2 separate regions of the Homo sapiens genome follow, and region 1 is linked to region 2. The links are contacts of gene promoters, found by promoter capture Hi-C in blood cells and fetal thymus (Javierre and others, 2016). All regions are on one chromosome and are shown on one strand. Each heading gives the region's core, a stretch centred on a gene start or on the middle of the fragment in contact. The rest is flanking DNA. Distances are from core to core; before and after follow the strand shown.

Region 1 (3,312 bases), core at 684-3,183, 1.1 Mb after region 2:
TAGGTATAAATGGGCTAATGAGAAACGGAGGTACAGAGATTAAGCAACTTGGCTAGCGTTATACAGCTTGTAAAACAGGAGAGCCTGGGACTCAATCCTGTGTTAATGCCAAAGCCTTAGCACCACCTTTAGTACCAACACCACAATCAGTCAATATGTATATACTGAGGGCATTGTTTTAAGTATTGTGGGGAAGAGGAAGTAGTATAATGAGATTTAAAGATCTGAAGATGAAAAGTCCAAATAAGAACCTTGAACTGAAATAGATCAGTTAGTGTTTCAAGATGAGGAATCTGTTTGTTGATAGCCAGATTATGAAACTGATGAGTGCCAAAATAGAAATTCAGAAAAATATACTTACCTTTATCATGAAATATGGTATATTTCACTTTTGCTTTTAGTATTTTCTTTTATATCCTAAATCTGCTTATGTGTGCTGTGCAAATTGTTAAAATTTTAAATAACTGTATAGTCCCTATTTTTGTTTGTCCTTGTTTTCTTATTTTGTTTCTTAATTTTAGAATGATGTTCCAATTTCTAGAATCTAGCAGTTCTCTAAGTGAAAGTATATAGTCATAAATTCATGAATCTAAGTATTTTTTAATGATATTTTACTAATTATTTAAATATACATTTATCTCTGAACATGAAAACATCAACATTCAAAAGTTTTATTTGAATTAACTATTATAGTGACAAAGCCAGATAATTTTATTAGAGGCCACAAACACTGAAACTTTTTCATACATACAGTTTTAATGCAAATGAACTTATTAATATGACATCCATTTATTAACAATTTAAGTTCTATGAATTTATCGAACATTTATTACTGTATTCTTATATCTTTCCTAACAAGCCTGCAGAAACCAGATTAAATATCCTTGACAGTGGTTATTACCAAAGCAAATACCACCCTGTTAGCTAAAATGCCACAGATTGGATAATTCCTGGTAAATTAAACACCTCATATCACAGTTGAGATAAGCTCTTATACCCCCAAACTAAGAGACTTTACTATGAATTGCATAATGAATACACAATGCTGTATTTTACATTTTTTCTGAAGTGTAGCTATTTTGTTGGACATGATGTGTCTTTGAAGAAATGTGTTGAATCTTATTTTTATATAGGTCTCTTAGCTATCATCGAAAATGTATTTAAAAAATATCAAAAGGCATTAAAGTTCTTGCTAACTTGGAAGGCCAGGAAGACCTATATTTTTATTCCATGTTTAAATAATTTTTTTCAGGATTCTGTCTAAATGCAAGCAGTATAGTCCCACAGCAAAGCATGATGGGTGCTTTTTCAGTTTTTTTTTTTGGTATGGCAGGTTACGACTTTTTGACAGAATCAGATTGATAGATCATACAAAATGTCCTGGGTAGCATATTTTAGATTACCTTTAAAACTCACTTAAGGAATTTATAAAGGCTTTCTCTTTTTTTTTTTTTGAGGTGAAGTCTCACTCTGCTGCCTAGGCTGGAGTGCAGTGGCGTGATCTCGGCTCACTGCAACCTCTGTCCCCCGAGTTCAAGCAATTCTCCTGCCTCAGCCTCCTGAGTAGCTGGGATTATAGCCACCTGCCACCGTGCCTGGCTAATTTTTGTATTTTTAGTAGAGACGGGGTTTCACCATCTTGGCCAGGCTGGTCTTGAACTCCTGACCTCGTAAGGTAAGAAAGGCCTCCCAAAGTGCTGGGATTACAGGTGTGAGCCACCGCTCCCGGCTTATAAAGGCTTTCGTAAAGAGTCTTCAATTTTGGTAAATTGAAGTTACTGCATTAATTTTTTACATTTAAATTTCTATAAAATTTATTTTACAGAAACATCCTATATTTTATATAAAAAGCAAAACAGTACTGAGTTCTGTTTGATTTTATAAGTAATTACTGGAACATTATATCAAGTTAAAATGTGTGAGAAGCCTATTGATTTATAGAATAAAATTATAAGTACTAACATAAGCAAATTTTTGAAAATATATATGGTTAATTGCATGAACGCTGATGATTGCATTTTCGTGCCATTTTAAGAGTTGAAAAAAGTATTTTTTGGCTTGGCTATAAAGGAAATATTTTTAACATTCATTGTGATATTGTTTGACCTACTACAAACAATAATAATAGTCCTCAAAATAGTAAGTTTTTTCTTATTTAAATGTTATGTACATAAAAATCAGCCTCTAGAAGGTAGTTAATTCATAACAAATTTTAAATAAAACTTTTGGTTGTAACTGATGTCCTAAAATTAGTTTTTTAGCTTAAGGAGAATATGTAGCACTTCTTTCTTTTTCCATAATCCATGGAGATGATCTAAAAGTGGAGCTATCAGCACTGGGGCATAAAACCAATATAAATGTATAACTGTGTAGCTATTGTAAAAATTGAAATCAGTATGATATCAGTTAGAAAAACATAGGAAAAATAGTGAAATCTTATTGCTTAACACAGAGTAGAGAGAAGGGGACTACCCAAGTTAAACCAAGTTATCGAAACTCATCCTTGGTAAGTTGGTTGAGGCAGATGTTTAAATATTCAGTATGTGAAGGTAGGTAGGTGAGTCTGAGCTCAAGAGTTTTAAACAAATTGTCTAAACAGCTAGGGCATAAGCATGAAAATCTATTTGGTAAACGTAGGATTGTTGCTGCATTTATGTTCATTTTTCCTTAGACATAAGGAAATAGACAACATTAGGATATTAAATATGTTACTTTAATTGAAAGCTATTCTCACAGACAGTTGGAAATAGCCTGAATAAAATAATGCTAACAGGTTAACTGAAGTCAGTATGTGGGTACCTATATAGGGCAGGAAAAATTTACACGTATTAGTATCTTTTAAAATACTATGCGTAATAGTTCAGATACTAATAAGGATTTTAGGAAATTTCTTTTATGTGTTGCTACAAATATATAAATGAATATTGTGTAGCTTTATTTTGGTATCAAAATTAGACATGTTAAAAGCAAAGATCCTGAGTGTGATTAGCAATTAATACACATTGTATTAAAATCATCTCAAATTGTTAATGAATACTTTAAAATTATCATCCTTTAGATGTTTTCTCCAAAACATCAAAGGAAAAAAAGGTATGCTTTTTAGGCAATACTTTTTATAGTAATGAAACGTTTATATACTATCATTGTGTTGTTTCACAGCTGTATGAGGTTAAAGATGAAAGTTTAGTCTCGGTATCTTCATTCATTTTTATACCATGATTTATAAAAATGATGTTGATAATTAAAAGTTAAAGCATTGATCTTTTGTAGTTATTAAAGGTATTTTTGCTATCATGGATATGTTATATTACA
Region 2 (3,148 bases), core at 37-2,536:
TTCCTATTAAAAGCTTTATTTGGTCCCTTTCTCTGAATAATGTATGCAGTGCTCATTTCTCTTCACCGGATCGGCTCAAAGCTTGATGAATATGGCTGTGGTTTGATGGGCAGTCTCTGCATCTCACATTGAGGCTCCGCTATGAAAAGAATTAGAATAGCAAGATCAATTGTCAGGCTAAGTAAATGAGCTCTCATCTCGGATCTGATTGCTTATATGAGAGGGCTGAAGTGATTCTTGGCTGCACTCTCAGGGAGAAGAGAGAAATGCATTTTAATTGCCCTGGCAGGGATAACAGGTGTTCTGTCCAGCTACCAAAACGCAAAGCCGCGTCTTTGCACTATAGAAGGCTTTCCCTTAAGTGAGAATACATATTCTTAAAGCAAAACAACTCAGAAACGCTGGTGTGGTGATGCACGCCTGTAATCCCAGGACTTTGGGAGGCCGAGGTGGGCGGATGGCTCGAGCCCAAAGAGACCAGCCTGAGCAATATGGTGATGACCCCGCCTCCACGAAAAAATACAAAAATTAGCCAGACGTGGTGGCGCGCGCCTGTGGTCCCAGATACTGGGGAGGCTGAGATGGGAGGATCGCTTGAGCTCGGGAGGTCGAGGCTGCAGTGAGTCGAGATCGCACCACCGTAATCCACCCTTGGCGACAGAGGAAGACCCTATCTCAAAAAAGCAAACCACCAAAAAAACCAGGGACAGCTCAATGCTCTTTTCCGTTTCATAGCTACTTACACTCAGATTTACAAATACCTATTAACTTGTAGACAGGGCAAGAAATAATTTATGCTGAAGAGACGAAAGACCTGAAAACAGATTTCTGTGTTTTACTCTCCATGTGGCCATCATGGACGAGGACGAAGAGGGACTTGATTTTTCCTTTAACGAGAAGAATGTTTAAGCTCTGAATTTTTAACCAATTTTTATGCTCGTTACTCTGCTGTAGGGTATGTATTTACCAAGATTAGCAGAACACCGCGAGTTCACCAGGCGGAGACAAGTCACTGTGAAGTGGGCAGCACAGGACCCCCCGGAGGGCAGGCGCCGGAAACTACATATCCCGGCGTGCCCCGCTCGCGAGCACAGTGGAGCCTGCCGCCATTCGGTTCACGGCGCTACGCATTCCCTGAGCGCCGCCGGATGCCGGCCTGGGTCCCGCCCAGGGCTGAGGGCCCTCCTGGGCCGGGAAAACTACAGTTCCCGACATGCCCTGCCACGGGTGCGCCTGCGTACCGGAGCTACTGCGCCGGGGAGCGGGTTGGTTTAAAATGCTGTGTTAGTTCCACGGAAACCCGCTCGCCTGCTGCAGTACGGAGCCTCAGGCGGACAGATGGACTGTAAGGTGAGGCTGCCGGGCCCCGGGCTGGTGAGGGGTGGTCGGAGGCTCGCGAGGCTTCGGCTCAGATAAGGACAGTCACCACTCCCTGGCGCCCTCTCCCTGTCCTGACGGAGTCCAGTCTCACTCCCTGGACCTCAGGGCCCTGATTTAAGGCGCTTTGGCGTTGGCTGCCGGTGAAAGCCATTTAGGAGCGAAGTTTGCATTGGCCTGGCTCCAGCTGAGGGATGGGAGATAGCCACCGAAGCCTCCAGATAAGCCCAATACCACCTTTATTTATGTGTTAAGTTGGAGTTTAATAGGTTCCTGGGAAGGCTATTTCGGCGTTAATGTTTGATTTTTGCCACCAGTTAATCCTCCCTGGCTTGCTTACCAGAATATAGGTGTCAGGAATTTGCACTTGTTCTTTACGGTTTCCGCAGTACCTGGCGCTCTTGCTAGAACGGAATAGACATTCGTTAAATTCCTGTCGAAGTATTCTCCTGTTTATTTACCACCTATAATTTCCCAGGCACTGTATTAGGCTCTAAAGATAGAAAAATGTCTATTTTTAACCCCACTTTAGAGAAGTTCGTATTAGTCCGTCTTAAATGCCCCCCAACACATGCTTCTAATTTGTTAATCTTGGCGTGCTCAGGACTAGGTCCTTTAATCCTTTGTGTTCTCTGTTATCCCGCCTTATGGTTTTCTTGAGCTCTTCAGAAATTAGTCTCCAGTCCACACCTCACCCCCAAACTTCAGATCCACAAATTCAATAATGTATTTGGTATCTTTCATGTTTTAAATTTGACATTTTAAAAACTACTCTTTATCTTTTCCACAAAACGGATTCTTCCTTAATAAGTTTGCATTGTCTCAGTGATAGCACCATCCAGGCCAAAAACCCTGTAGTAATCTTGGCTTCTTCCTTTCCCTCATATCTCATATCTAATGCATCAGCAAAAGCTATCTTTCAAGTATATCTAACCACTAACCACTTCTTACAGTAGGAATACCGCTGCTGTCACCTTGGTTCTGGCCAGCAGCATCTCTACTTCTGCTTTTGTTCTTCCACCATTTGGAGTGGGAGGGAGTCAAAATGATCCAGTTAAAAGGAAAGTTGGATAGCATTCCTCAGCTATAGACCTCCAGTGACTCTGAGAATCACTGACAGCAAAAGCCAGACTTCTACAATGGCCTTCAAGGCTCTGTGTATTCTGTTTTTTGTTTTTTTGAAACGGAGTCTCGCTCTGTCGCCCAGGCTGGAGTGCAGCAGTCTCAGCTCACTGCAAGCTCCGCCTCCTGGGTTCACACCATTCTCCTGCCTCAGCCATCCGAGTAGCTGAAACTACAGGAGCACGCCACCACGCCCGGCTAATTTTTTTTTTATTTTTATTTTTGTATTTTTAGTGAGACGGGGTTTCGCCGTGTTAGCCAGGATGGTCTCGATCTCCTGACCTCTTGATCTGCCCGCCTCGGCCTTCCAAAGTGCTGGGATTACAGGCGTGAGCCACCGCGCCCAGCCGTATTCTGGTTTTATTATTACCGTCTGACCTCATCTCTCAATGTTCTCTGTGTTACTCCTTCCTCTCCAGCCAAACCCACCTCTTTATTATGTGCGGACTCATCAGACCTTCTAACTTCAGGCCTTTGCACTTGCTGTTTCCGTCTTCTGGGCCTTTCTGCCCTCTGATATCTATATAACAGGTCTTTGCTCAAATGTTATGAGGCCTTCTTTGACCACCCTGTTTAAAATGAAAATCTGCCCTGTAGCCTCCATACCATGTTCTTTCCTATTTCATTTTCCTCCTTTGCACTTATCACC

The links. Contacts are between HindIII fragments. The CHiCAGO score rates a contact against its expected background, and 5 or more counts as called.
Region 1: a contact is called between a fragment that was not itself captured here and the fragment with the promoter of CCDC150 in region 2, in 1 of 17 cell types (total B cells). The highest score is 5.2, in total B cells.

What each region holds. Positions count from the first base shown.
Region 1 is chr2:197,713,301-197,716,612 of GRCh38, forward strand. No RefSeq gene overlaps it. Among named protein-coding and RNA genes, the nearest start is that of MARS2, 9.6 kb to the left of the region's middle. The HindIII fragment of the contact is 6,138 bases long and covers 1-3,312 here.
Region 2 is chr2:196,638,429-196,641,576 of GRCh38, forward strand. CCDC150 (coiled-coil domain containing 150) reads left to right here and starts at 1,287. Exons shown (of 28, transcript NM_001080539.2): 1 at 1,287-1,350. The coding sequence starts at 1,339. LOC105373823 (a long non-coding RNA gene) reads right to left here and starts at 1,257. Exons shown (of 2, transcript XR_923747.3): 1 at 968-1,257; 2 at 1-139. RefSeq lists enhancers at 799-1,018, 1,039-1,088, 1,073-1,610, 1,611-2,148. The HindIII fragment of the contact is 4,677 bases long and covers 80-3,148 here.